Regions from separate parts of the Homo sapiens genome. Here regions 2, 3 and 4 are each linked to region 1. The links are contacts of gene promoters, found by promoter capture Hi-C in blood cells and fetal thymus (Javierre and others, 2016). All regions are on one chromosome and are shown on one strand. The core of a region is centred on a gene start or on the middle of the fragment in contact, and the rest is flanking DNA. Distances in the headings are between cores, read along the strand shown. Region 1 holds the start of ZBTB25 (zinc finger and BTB domain containing 25). Region 2 overlaps SYNE2 (spectrin repeat containing nuclear envelope protein 2). Region 3 overlaps SYNE2 (spectrin repeat containing nuclear envelope protein 2). Region 4 overlaps MAX (MYC associated factor X).

Evidence for each region. The method cuts DNA at HindIII sites, captures the fragments that hold promoters and counts their contacts. A CHiCAGO score of 5 or more calls a contact.
Region 2: a contact is called between a fragment that was not itself captured here and the fragment with the promoter of ZBTB25 in region 1, in 1 of 17 cell types (fetal thymus). The highest score is 6.8, in fetal thymus.
Region 3: a fragment that was not itself captured here is called in contact with the fragment with the promoter of ZBTB25 in region 1 in 1 of 17 cell types (naive CD4 T cells); the score reaches 5.4 in naive CD4 T cells.
Region 4: a fragment that was not itself captured here is called in contact with the fragment with the promoter of ZBTB25 in region 1 in 3 of 17 cell types (monocytes, total CD8 T cells and neutrophils); the score reaches 7.2 in monocytes.

The regions. Positions count from the first base shown.
Region 1 is chr14:64,502,360-64,505,583 of GRCh38, reverse strand. It overlaps ZBTB25 (zinc finger and BTB domain containing 25), which reads left to right and starts at 1,746. Exons shown (of 3, transcript NM_006977.5): 1 at 1,746-1,923. ZBTB1 (zinc finger and BTB domain containing 1) reads right to left here and starts at 814. Exons shown (of 2, transcript NM_001123329.2): 1 at 638-814. RefSeq lists silencers at 505-614, 725-984, 1,585-2,014 and enhancers at 704-1,374, 1,475-1,564, 2,335-2,434, 2,495-2,614. The HindIII fragment of the contact is 6,379 bases long and covers 1-2,458 here.
Region 2 is chr14:63,855,810-63,859,033 of GRCh38, reverse strand. All of the region lies in intron 1 of SYNE2 (spectrin repeat containing nuclear envelope protein 2), which reads right to left. Among named protein-coding and RNA genes, the nearest start is that of SYNE2, 4.4 kb to the right of the region's middle. The HindIII fragment of the contact is 5,881 bases long and covers 1-3,224 here.
Region 3 is chr14:63,873,438-63,876,661 of GRCh38, reverse strand. The region is part of intron 1 of SYNE2 (spectrin repeat containing nuclear envelope protein 2); the gene reads right to left. Among named protein-coding and RNA genes, the nearest start is that of SYNE2, 22 kb to the right of the region's middle. The HindIII fragment of the contact is 362 bases long and covers 1,536-1,897 here.
Region 4 is chr14:65,095,357-65,098,580 of GRCh38, reverse strand. The region is part of intron 2 of MAX (MYC associated factor X); the gene reads left to right. Among named protein-coding and RNA genes, the nearest start is that of MAX, 5.5 kb to the left of the region's middle. The HindIII fragment of the contact is 1,288 bases long and covers 957-2,244 here.

The sequences.
Region 1 (3,224 bases), core at 497-2,996:
ATTTACCGAACTTCTAGTAAGCGCCCACCGCTGCAAGCGAAAGCACTCCCTTCCCAAGAAACAGATCTTTTCCACTTAAAATTCCCAAACTCAGACCTTCCACTTTTTACTGAACAAAAAGCGTGTGTGCCGGCGAGAGGGGGTGGGAAACAGCGTAACAAGAATTTGCACGGATCTTACGCCTCCTCCCTCGGAGCGCGCCCAAGTCTGCAGCCTCGGGCTCCGGGACACTTCCCCTCCCACCCGCCGCCGAGCCGCAGCTGTAAGTTGAGAGAAGCGGGCTCTAGGCACGTCAATCAACCGGGTTCTCCCGCCTCCCGTCTACACCTCCCCTCCCCCCTCGAAAAAAATAAAGGCAGAGAAAGAAAGAAAAGAAGGTAACTAATTTGGGAACTAGTCTCCGTAGGGGCTTCGCCTCCGACTCAGGGAGGCCGCACGCCCGGGACCTGACGCGCCGGCAACAAGCAGGCGGCCTGGCAGCCGCCCGTCACCGGGTCCTCGCAGCGCGTCCGCCGCGCTCCGGCTCCCCGCACGGATCGGCGCCCCTCCGGCCCCGCACTCCGCCAGGCCCGCGGCCCGTCGCCCTCCGGCCTGGGCCAAAGTTGCGCAAATAGCCCCACAACTGGCAAATACTTACCGGCCGCAACAGGAACCAGAGCTGCGGAGATTTTAGGGAGTTTAAGGCAAATCAGCCGCGGGAAAGGCGGGCGAAGGCGAAGGGGCCGCGAGCTGCAGTGGCGGCGGCGCGCGGCGCTCGGCGCTCGGGCTGGGCTGCGCGGAGAGGCTCTGGCTCTGCCAGGGACTGTGCTGCAACAAAGGACTTCCGCTGCCGCACAGCCGCGCCTGCCGCACCGCACTGAGCCGGCCCCGCTTACGCGGCGACTCCGGGTCTGCCCACCAGTTCGCTGCGGCGTCCGCCAGCCTTCCCCTCCCTCTCGCCCGCCCACCCACTCTGCCGCTGGCTGCTAGGGGCACCCGCGGTCGCCTGTTTGTTGCAACAAGTTTCTGCGTCGAGCTCCGAGGAGGCTGGCGCAACCCGCACCGCGGGGGCCGTCGCGGCGGCGGCGGCTTGACCACCCCTCTTGCCCCTCTCAAGGGTAGGCTTGGGACCTCCTCCTCCTCCTGTTTGCACAGCTGGATGGAACTGGGCTCCTCCCGACTCCCCAGGGCAGGATGCGAGGCTGCTTTCCCACTCCGTCCAGATGTCAGACCCCTGCCCGTTGGGCCCAGCAGCTGGGCCGTCACTCGCGGTCCGCCTCGAGTGCTCCGGCAACCTCGCCCTGCCCCGTCGGTTCAGGGTCGCCCAGTCCCCGCGCCCCCCCGACCCCACCTTCCGTGGGCCTGCTGCCTCTGGCCCTGAGTCACTTCCCCCGCCATGCCCCACCTCGCCCAGTCCGCCTCTCCACCCAGGCTCCCGCGGCTCGGCCTCCCTGGCCCCGCGCCCTCATCCCTTCCCCAGCGAACACGCGGGCGCATCCTTCCCCACCCCCACCTTCACCCCAGAACTGAGGGGGTGCCTGTGCTTTTGCACACCCTGGGGAAAGTCCCCGGGTCACGCGGTTGTTTGTGGGGAGCCTGTGACGCTCAGGCTTGTCCCTATGCTTCCGCCTACAGAGTCACAACTGCGAACTGTGGCGGCGGCACTCAGAGCGCGGGCCGACCCCCGCCCGGCCACTGAGGCGGGCGGGCGGGAGGGCGCGCACGTACGCACGCACGCACGCACGCACACCCCGGCCCTGGCGCCCCTCTTTCCCCTGCTACCAGACACGCGGTCACGTGGGGCCATCGCGGGCTGCCGGCGCGGGAAGCCGCGCGAGAGGCGGCCGAGGGGTGCGTGAGCCGGCGCCACTGCTTGCAGTGCGCGGCTTGGGAGCCCGCCCCTCCTGCACGGAGGAGTCGGCCTGCCGCCGCGGCGGCATCTGGGTAAGCGACGCGGTCCTGCCCCTGTGGGCTGCCCCGGGCTCAGTCCCTCCTGCCGCGAGCCACCCAGGGCGGCGGCCTGCAGCTGCACCAGTCGCGGGACAGATGCAAGTAGCTGGGGAGAGGGGTGTTTTTGGTCCGATTGAGATGTCAGGCAGGGCACAGGAGGAAAATACATCCGCGAGTGAGCGCTGGGCCGACAATACCCAGAACCACCCTTTGCTGCTCGTAGGAGCGGCTGCCGGGGCCTGATTCAGGGTGGCACACGGGGTGCCGCGAAGGTGCAGAGCCGTCCCGGCCGCGGGTCCGGGTGCGACCCCCAGCAGGAAACCCCAGTAGGCCTGCGGCCTCCCTCGGGTAGCGCCGACCCCTCTTACGAGCGGGCGACTTTCCAGATGCTGGGAGGACGCTGCGGCTACTGTTTCCACTCCCAGCTTGTGATTACCTCGTTTCTAGGGCAAGAAGACATCCCCCCCTTTTCTATCTTCAAATTATGTTTATCTTGTTCTAAGCATATCCGGTTTTTCTTTTTGAAGCTTGACCCATCTTATCACCGTCTTCTCTGGCACTCAGTATTTGGAGTAATCAGTTGTTACCAGTTGCGGAGGCAGCGCATAGCACAACGTAGTACCTGGAACCTGACGGCACCTAGCATGTTTCAACAGTTAGCGCCCGCATCACCCCAAGGGATTAAATTTGGCATTCTTTCTCTTGAGACTCAAGTCCTGGCAGAGCTGTTGATCCTCTCACAAGATTCTGTCATGTATGTAAAGTACACTTTGGAATCTTAAATTTTAGAGCCGAGAGGTGCCTTATAGAAAATCTGTTTCATCCCTCTCGTTTTACAGAGAAGACACCAGGCCTGAAGAGCGTGATGTAGCTGGAGCTAGCTACACCTCTTGATAGCTAAGACTCCAAGGCTCCAGACACCTTGGTGATTGCACTCTCCACCATGCCAGGACCGCAGTGCCAGTTTACCCCACTCACCTGTAGAGAATGTATCCGGCGGAGGTCATTATATATACTTGGCTTGATTCAGGTTATGGAGAAGTCAGGCATGGCCACTGTGTGGGTTTGATGGTATTTCTAGGTGAGGTAGGCCGCCTATGGTGTATTTTTGGAACTAAAAGCCTACACCCCCCAGCCACCCCTGAAAGTTTCATTGCTGTTCTCTATTATTTGCAGCATTGGTTGCTTCCTTATGTTAAGGCATCAAAGTCTTCTTTAACAATCTGGATATATTTTAGTTAAGGGTAAATCGTGAATCCGTTATCGGACATCAACTCCTTAATAGGGAACAGAAC
Region 2 (3,224 bases), core at 198-2,697, 650 kb after region 1:
AGGTGGGGTAAACTTCCACCCATATTCACACCATAAACAAAAATTAAAGTACATGAACCTAAATGTTAAACCAAAACCTATAAAAATTTTAGAAAAAAATCATAGGAGAAAGCCTTTTTGACTTTGAATTAGGCAGATTTCTTAGATAATAATACCAAAAGTACAATCCATAAAGAATAAATTGACAAATTGTACTTCATCAAAATTAAGAACAGTATCTTCAAAAGATATTGTTAAGAGAATGTAATAAATTTGCTATGGTTTAAATGTCCCCTCCAAAACTCTGGTGAAATTTAATCGCCATCGTAACATTATTAAGAGGCAATACTGTTACAATATTACAGTATTAAGAGATGGAACTTTTATCAGGTGATAGGTTATAAGGGCTCTGCTGTCATTAATGGATTAATGCCATCATCGCAGGAGTGGGTTCCTTATAAAGGAATAAATCAGGCTGAGAGTGGTGGCACGCACCTGGAGTCCCAGCTACTCAGGAGGCTAAGGCAGGAGAATCGCTTGAACCTGGGAGGCAGAGGTTGCAGTGAGCTGAGATCAAGCCACTGCACTCCAGCCTGGGCAACACAGCGAGATACTGTCTCAAAAAAAAAAATAGGCTGGGTGCAGTGGCTCATGCCTGTAATCCCAGCACTTTGGGAGGCCAAGGTGGGCAGATCACTTGAGGCCAGGAGTTCAAGACCATCCTGGCCAACACAGTGAAACCCTGTCTCTACTAAAAATCAAAAAAAAAAAAAAAAAAAAAAAAAAAAAAAAGGCCGGTGTGGAGACGCACACCTGTAATCCCAGGTACCACAATCACTAGAACCCAGGAGGCAGAGGTTGCAGTGAGCTGAGACTGTGTCACTGCACTCCAGCCTGGGTGACAGAGTGAGACTGTGTCTTAAATAAATAAATAAATAATAAAATAAAAATAATAAAACAGCTCCATTTTGCTTCTTTCTCACCCTCTCTTTGCCCTTCTGTCATGTAATGATACAGCAAAAATGCTCTCACCAGATGTCGCCCCATCAATCTTAGACTTCCCAGATTCTAGAACCATGAGCCAATAAATTTCTGTTCATTATAAATTACCCAATCTATGGTATTCTGTAATGGCAGCACAAAATGGACTAAGATAAGACTGAATGGAAATATTTGCAAATCTTACACGTGACAAATGACTTGCATCCAGAATACACAAAGAACTCTCAAAACTCAATAAGAAGGAAAACAATGCAAGAAAACGGGCAAAAAATTTGAGTAGACACTTCAACAAAGAAGATAAATGGATGGTAAATAAGCATATGAAATGATGCTCAACATCATTAGTCATCAGGGAAATGGAAATTAAAACCACAATGAGGTGTCACTACACACCCAACAGAATGGCTATAAAAGCCTAACCACCCCAACTGTTGGCAAGGATCTGGGGCAACTGGAACCCTCATAGACTATTTTGGTTATATTATATAACCACTTTGGAAAAGTATAGTAGTTCTTTGAAAAATTAAACATATGCCTACCATAGGATCTAGTCATTCTACTCCTAGACATCTACCCAGGGGAAATGAAAGATATGCATACAAAGACTGTGTATAATGTTCATGGCAGCTTTATTTTTAATAGCCCAAAACCAGAAACAACCTAAATGTCTATCAATGGGTGAAAAGATACATGAACTGGCGTCTATCAGTACAATGGAGTATTACTTAACAATAAAAAGAAATCAGCTATTGATACAATGTGGATGAGTCTCAAAATAATTATGCTAAGCAAAAGCCAGGCAAAGAAGAGAACTTACTACATGATTCCATTTACATAACATTCTAAAAAACGCAAACTAATCCACAGAGACAGAAAGCTATCATTGGCTGGATGAGGAAGAGGGATTCAGGGTATAGCAAGGAGCTACAGGGAGACAGTTCCACAGGTCTATACATAAGTCAAAAACTTCTCAAATGTAAACACGAGGCCAAGGGCAGACTCATGCCTGTAATCCAGCACTTTGGGAGGCTGAGGTGGGAGGATCACTTGAGGCCAGGAGTTGGAGACCAGCCTAGGCAACATGGTGAGACCTCTTCTCTACAAAAAAATTCACAGTTGGCCAGGCATGGTAGTGTGCACCTGTAGTCAGTTACTTGGGAGGCCGGGGTGGGAGAATCACTTGGGCCCAGGAGGTAGAGGCTACAGTGAGCCATGATCGCACCACTGTACTCCAGCCTGGGTGATAGAACGAGACCTTGTCTCAAAAAAATAAAATAAGTGAATTTACACTACTCCAGACATAATCTTTTATTTGATGAAAGTAGGAAAGGGGGCATTATGACACAGATCCTTTGTACATGTGAAAGCAAGCATTTTGTCTTTAAAAAGAAAAAAAGGAGGGGAACATACAGTGAAGACTCAGAGAATAGGCTATTGTATTTAATATTATTTCTTAATTAAGATGTTGCCAATCTGAAATATTTCACAATAATAAAAAAGGAAAAATGATTGTATGTTTCCAATTTGGCCTGTCCCACTCCCAGGCAGAACTAGGGGCTTCCCTCCTCCCACAGCCCCCAGGAGCACATGTGTATACTGCAATAGCTTGTCTTCCCACTAGACTAACAGCTTCACCAGGACAGGGACTGTCTTTTGATTTTGACATAGTGGTCAGATACAGGTTCGTTAGAGTCTGCGAGCCTGGCTTTGTATTCTAGGCGCTGCCACTCACCTACTGCATAATCTCAGAAAGTTATTCAATCTCCCTGATGCCCAGTTTCTTAAACCATAAAAAGGGCTAATAGGCTACATATGAGGATTCCATGTTAATTTCTCCAGAAAGGCCCTGCATGATCTGACACCTGATTTCCACCCTGTCATTTAGTCCTACCCTCCCTTAACTTGACAGTGCTCAGCCACAATGACCTCTCAGTTCCAATAAATCCACACACCACCTAGCTCTTTCCTGCCTGGAGGCCTTTGAGCATCCTATCTCTCGGCCGGATCTTCTTCCATGCCTGTCTCCTCTCTACAACCTCTTATGCCACAACAACATGGCTAGCTCCTTCTCATCTTCAAGTCTCAGTTAAATGTCACTTCCACCTAGAGGCCTTCTCACCAGTATTCTAGGAGGCCTTGGTTATTCCATGTCCCAGCACTCTGTTATACCCTTCTTTCCACTCAACACTCATTCAAGTTATTGAGGACCTGCTATACGCCAGTTACCGTTCCAGATTCTGAAG
Region 3 (3,224 bases), core at 467-2,966, 630 kb after region 1:
ACAAAAATTAGCCGGGCGTGGTGGTGGGCGCCTGTAGTCCCAGCTACTCGGGAGCCTGAGGCAGGAGAATGGCATGAACCTGGGAGGCGGAGCTTGCAGTGAGCGGAAATCACGCCACTGCACTCCAGCCTGGGCAACAGAGCGAGACTCGGTCTCAAAAAAAAAAAGGAACATATTTGCTTGTTGCTTGTTTTTTTTAATTAAAAAAAATATAATGGTATCCACTACTGCAATTAAATAAGATTTTGTTTGTTTTTTGAGACAGGGTCTTGCTCTGTCACCCAGGCTGGAGTTTAGCAGTATGATCATAGCTTACTACAGCCTTGAACTTCTGGCTCCACCTCAGCCTCCCAAGTAGCTGGAATTACAGGCGTGTGCCAACACACCCCGCTAACTTTTTTTTTTTTTTTTTGTAGAGATAGAGTCTCGCTGTGTTGCCCAGGCTGGTCTCAAACCCCTTGGCTCAAGCAATCCTCCCATCTCAGCCTTCCAAAGTGCTAGGATTACAAGTGTGAGCCACCACGTCCAGCCGATTAAATAAGTTTTAAACAACTAGCTCAATCCATAGTCACCAAACTCATACCTGTACCTTCATAAAACAGGTCCATCATAGTTTAAACTGGAATCGCTGGGGTGATCCTGGTCCACAGACCTCCCTAGAGTACAGCCAAGTCAATCAGAGGGGTCTTTAAGATGCACCCCTTGCAACATGCACTTTGGCCAGTCTCCCTTCTGCCCTGGGGTTTCTCGCATCAAGTCACCGGTCTGGGAACCTTGAAGAACTGCAGAGGGCAAGAGCAGGCTCTTCCACCTGGGCAGTGACGCCTCCCTTCGGCCCATACACTGTTGTCCCTCAAATGTACCTCTTAAGATTCGTGCCAAAAGACAGAAAAAGCAATTTACTATAAATATCGGCATTTCAAACATTTTATTTGTTATTGTTTAATATGTGAAGGTATTTCCCCCCATGACTGGCTGAGGTTGACAAGTGTTACTCACTTCATTTTTTTTTTCTATTCTGTTAGTCTCCAACAACATATTTCTACATCACCAATCCCCTTGCTCAGTGTCCCATAAAGGTCTCTGTTTCCACAAACGCAGGCAACAGCATGGGCGTGCTAGTCCAGGAATACCACTGCACCTCCTCCACCCCAAGCTTAACTTCCCAGGAGAAGGAGGAAGTGATGGTGTTGGAAGAGAGCCCTAAAATGTTGTCATTGTTATTGTGAATCTTTAAATAGAACTTAGTATCTGTAAAGGGTTTTGGGAATCACCTTTACTCACAACTGTTCATAAAGATGCTATGAGAAGGAAGGGCCATTCTGTTAGCTCTGGTCTTTGATTTTTATCTATATCACATGCTGCATTATTACATGAAACTGGGCCTCATAAAGTAAAAATTATCCTGCTAAAATAAAATCAGGATTCCTTAAAAATCAAAGACTTGAAAGTTTGGCAAAGTGATGCACACCTGTAGTCCCAGATACTTGGGAGGCTGAGGCAGGAGGATCACTTGAGCCCAATGGTTTAAAGCTTAGTGCACCATGATCACACCTGTGAGTAGCCACTGCACTCCAGCCTGGACAACATAGCAACACCCCATTTAAAAAAAAAAAATCAGAGGTTTGAATTTTTTTATCCATGTGATCATGAAGAAGATAAAATTAATTTAGATGACACCATCTCTGAGAACTCTGCTTGTCTCCTAGTGATAACACCACACCCTTTGTACCAACAACAAAATGTCTTTAAATACTTTTCCCCTTTGACATTTTTTATTTTCTATGTCATTAAATCAGGTTATTTGGCAAGAAATGCAAGGAAAAAGAGAATTTCAGAATAATTATAGTAATATTAATTTTGACTAAGCAAACATAAAAAGTTACTTAATGAAGCTTGTTTTCCAAACTTTTAAACATTGCTAAATCTTCTTGCAAGATTTTTGTTTTCCCTTTGAGGTTACCCACTTGTAAAGTCCATTAGTTTTTGTTTCTTAAAAAAAAGCAGTTATGGCAAATAGGCTCAAAATATTTTCTGCCTCTAAAAATAAACATCTTTCTTTTGAACAACATTCTTAACTCTAAAGTTCTGGCTATTCCCAAGAGAGACAAGGCTAGTTAGTGGCAATTTTAAAGATAAGAGAGCTCAGGCAGGTTACATAGATATCCTTCCTGGAACCCCTTGGCCTGTCATCTTCCTGCGACATCTAGCAAATTATGGTACTTTGTTAGCTCCCAACAACAAAAGAGGCCTGCAGAGCCAGGAGGTGAGAAGCAGAGACAGTGGAGCAGAGGGCAGGCAGGGAGAGCCACAGCGTTCAGTAGGATTTAGTCTACAAATAACAAGGAAATCAGATGCAATGCTCCAGGAAAAGGCAACCTCCAGTACCAAAAGTATTTTTAAATGTTTACGTCTTTTTGTGCAACTATAAGAAGGTTTTAAAGAACTACAATGAACAACACGTTAAACACTCTGACAGACGGACATCTCATAGATACGTAATGCAAGCAATCTGTAAGGAAGAGAGATACAGGAAGGGAGAGAAGGAAGCACACAGCCAGGACAGCAGGATAAAGAGGAAGATGACATTTTCCAAGCTAACAAATGGTTTTTAACTGTCCTAATCCAGGTGCTTAAGATCCTTGAAAACAATAACCTTCCAGAAAGCAAATACAAGCAGCCAACAAGAGAACAAGTAGCCTCCTATGTACCTCTGTCAAGTCACCGTTCACTGGAGGAAAAAGGGAGGGAAAACCAAGCCATGAACAACCCAAATAGTGTTAATAAATCAAATTATGGAAGGAACTTCTGAGCAACAGCCGCCGTCCTCCCATTCACTTTCTACTTCCTTTGCATGCTGAGACCCATCCACAGTTCAGTGAGGAAGCAATGGTGCCAACCATTGTCCTGCTTTATGTAGTTAATGGAGAAAAAAATGAGAATCTTATGATTTCTTACAAAGGTAAGTACTTGGCCGGGTGCAGTGGCTCACGCCTGTAATCCCAGCACTTTGGGAGGCCGAGGCAGGTGGATCACGAGGTCAGGAGATCAAGACCATTCTGGTTAACACAGTGAAACCCCATCTCTATAATACAAAAATTGGCTAGGCGTGGTGTTGGGCGCCTGTACTCCCAGCTACTTGGGAGGCTGAGGCAAAAGAATCGCTTGAACCCGGGAGGCGGAGGTTACAGTGAGCCGAGATCGTGCCATTATACTCCAGCCTG
Region 4 (3,224 bases), core at 351-2,850, 590 kb before region 1:
GTTTGGGAAATTTCTTTAGGAAAGAGTGTAAGTATACAGGAAATGTATGGGTTAGTGTGTTGGTCAGGAAATGCAATTTTTTTTCCAGTGACCATCCTTGATGGCACCTGACTGAGTTGCAGTTGCAGTATACTTGTGAGGGGTTTGAAAACAGATTTGTGCAATTCCACTTCTGGACCTTTCTGGCATGAAATATTTTTAACTTCTCAGAGCTCTTTGCTTCTTTAGGAATATTCAGAAGAGAACGAGCTTGGTAGCCTCCGAGATTGGAATTCACTCAGGAAACTACTGTCTGTTTTACCTGCAGTCAGTTGCATGGCAAAAGTGCTGCACAATGCATGTACTTTTTCTCTGCTTAGAGTGTTGACAGTGATGCTTACAGTGATAACAAATGCCAGAGTTAGTTCCTAAATGTGCCTGTGTTAGGGTAAAAGTTGTTCTTATGTCTAAAAGAATTTTTCCAAGATGCCAGTAACGGTGAAATAGTTGGTCAAAGAATTCAGCTTGGTTTTTAATTAAAATTTCCTGACCAAGGCATCCTTCTCTGAAATGGCTATAGTATGAGGCCCTGTTTGGATTATAGCATTTGCCAGTTATTTTAGGCACCAAAAGAAAAAAGTTTGAAAACAAATACATACATTAGATAATGTTGGAAATGTATACCAGGCAATCAGCTACAAGCAGGACAGGTATTGGAAAATTGAAATCCATGTCTTTCTCTTAGGGAGCTTGGTGAGTTTATCCCATCCTACCTGCCTATTATTTTATGTTATAATTTTTGGGTTGATTAAAATGAATATTTTAAGTTGCTTAGAAATTGAGCTTTATCCTATCTTGTTCTTATCTATCAGAAGTAAGAAATAGATCTTTTCGGATGAGATTTTTGGGTCTGTGTATTCTCGTGTCCTTAGTCTCTAATAAGAATAGCTTGATAAGAATCATAAGCAACACAAGCTTCCCTCTAAAATACAACCTTCACATTTTGTAAAGGTAGTAAATATTGAGTGGGCAACTAATTCCCTATATGCTGAGAATTTTCTGTATTAGAATTGAGATGGTTCCCCTTATAGGTGGGGTTAGCTGTCAGGTAGCCTGTAAGACATGGCATTGTTCTGGAGAACCTTGTGCATCCTGGAATAATGAAGCATTTATTTCCCCGTGCTATTTGCCTAGAACTTGGAGGAAATAAGATTACTGACTGATGTGATGCCTTGAACAAAGATGCAGTCTCTCTGCAGTAAGTTGGAAGGAAATAATTTTAAGAGATTTCCCTCAATTTTGAACAGACCTCCTTAGCCTAGATGACTTCTTGCCAACATAGCAACTTCTTGGCTAACAAAATAATGTTTGTCTTCAACATCTAACAACACTTAAGATACACGTGCTTGGTAGTGTCAAAGATGGACAAATTGTAGGTGAAGATTTTTATTCTGTCTACCAGTGTGGAAAGTTGGGTAGAAATATAACTGAGAGGCTGAATAAAAACTTTGGCAGAGATGTCAAAGCTGGAAGTGATTTGGTGCGGGAGTTTCTGTTGAGCATCTGTGGACCACTGCATAGCCCCTTAGTATTTCTGTTAGGGATGCCCTGGAGGAAGGGTTTTCTGGCAGACATCCAGACGTACAAATCCAGCGTACTAGAAGAGTGGGCAGCATCCAGCCACTGTAACCATAGGATGTGTAGGGGAGATGTTTGGGAGCCTGCTGTACAGTCCAAGAATACCTCTGTGGTCTCCTAGAATAGGGCCTAATTAATTCCACAAGGGGGTTTTCCGTACCATTTGTTTTCATTACTGAACATCATTCTCAGTACAGGCTCATCTGAGTAGAGTTTTATTTGTTCAAGACAATTGTTTGGGCTTGTTTTTTAAAACCAGTTTTGCATTTGGGGGAGGATATTAGATGCCTTACACTGGGAGTCTTCACCCAGTTTTTCTTCTTCAACTCTGAAATCTTGGCCCTCTCAAAAAGGGTTGCCAGCAAGCAAAGACAGTTAACAAGGCAGTGATAAAGCCTGCAAACTAGTCCTCCAATGGGGGTGGGGATGAGGCGCGGGCAGTGTTATTGGTCTGGGTGGATCTGTGGTTTGGAAATGTTTCCCACAGAGAATTCTCAGCCTTGTGTAAAGGTTTTTCTGTTTTTCATGTGCTCTTTCAAAACATTAGTGATAACATTTAATTCACAGTTGCCTGGAATTAGGCTTGTTAGTTCTGCATGTTTTTAACTTGTTCTTTCAAATCAAGCTTGGGGAAGAGAAAAATACATCCTTGCCATTGTCTCTGAGAGATTTAAAATTGACTCCACTAGTAGCTCAGGGATGGACATGGCAGCAGGGATTGGTGTAAGATTCCACTCTTCTGCTAGTTAAATTGGGCCTGGAACCACTACAGAAATTCCATCCACTACTTTGAGAACAACAGTCCCCAGCCCAGGCTTTCTACCAGGCAGTGGACTGCTGCCTTTCCTTGTTGAGCCAACTTCTCAAACTTGGCTGGCTCCCCAGATGAGAAGCCAAGATTTCTGCTCATGATCTACAGCCAAGTTCACTTACAATCCTCCAACCGAGAGACTTGTCCATTTGAGTCCTTTCAGAGCTCAGTGAATGGGAGGGGGTAGTGCATTGTGGGGATGATTTTGGTGTTAGATTATACTTAGCTCCACCCCTTTAGTGCAGGTCCACGTGAAACCAAGTGCAACTTCATTCTAGCTGTTTGAGATTTGCAGGGCTCTCCCAGAAAGAAAACAGACAATTAGAATTTTATTTGTATCAACAAGAGGGATTGTGGGTAATTCTGGTGCACAGCTCTTAGCTGGGAGGAGGGCCAAGAATCAGGGTGATTTAGTAGACAGGAGTATCTTGGGCTGCTCTGGAGACCAAAGATGGGCAATTAATTTGCATGTAAATAAACCACCTTAGGTAGTATATAGCAAACAGGAGCCGCAGACACATGCCAAATATTGTCTCTTGGCCTTTAAGCTCCTTAGGTATAGTCGCAGCCCAACTTATCTTTATGTAGATGATCAGAGGGAACAACAGTAAGTTCAAAAGGACTAGATACTTAAATAGGTTCAATTCTGTCGCACTATTTCATGCTACTGTTAGAAGGCATCTATAATTTTGCGCTAAAGTTGTATGATACAGAGTACCTACCTCTACCCTCAGGTTATGTGGTGTTCCAAACTTGACTGTCCTCTCAGCTTCATATTTCATGTCACTATAGTTCA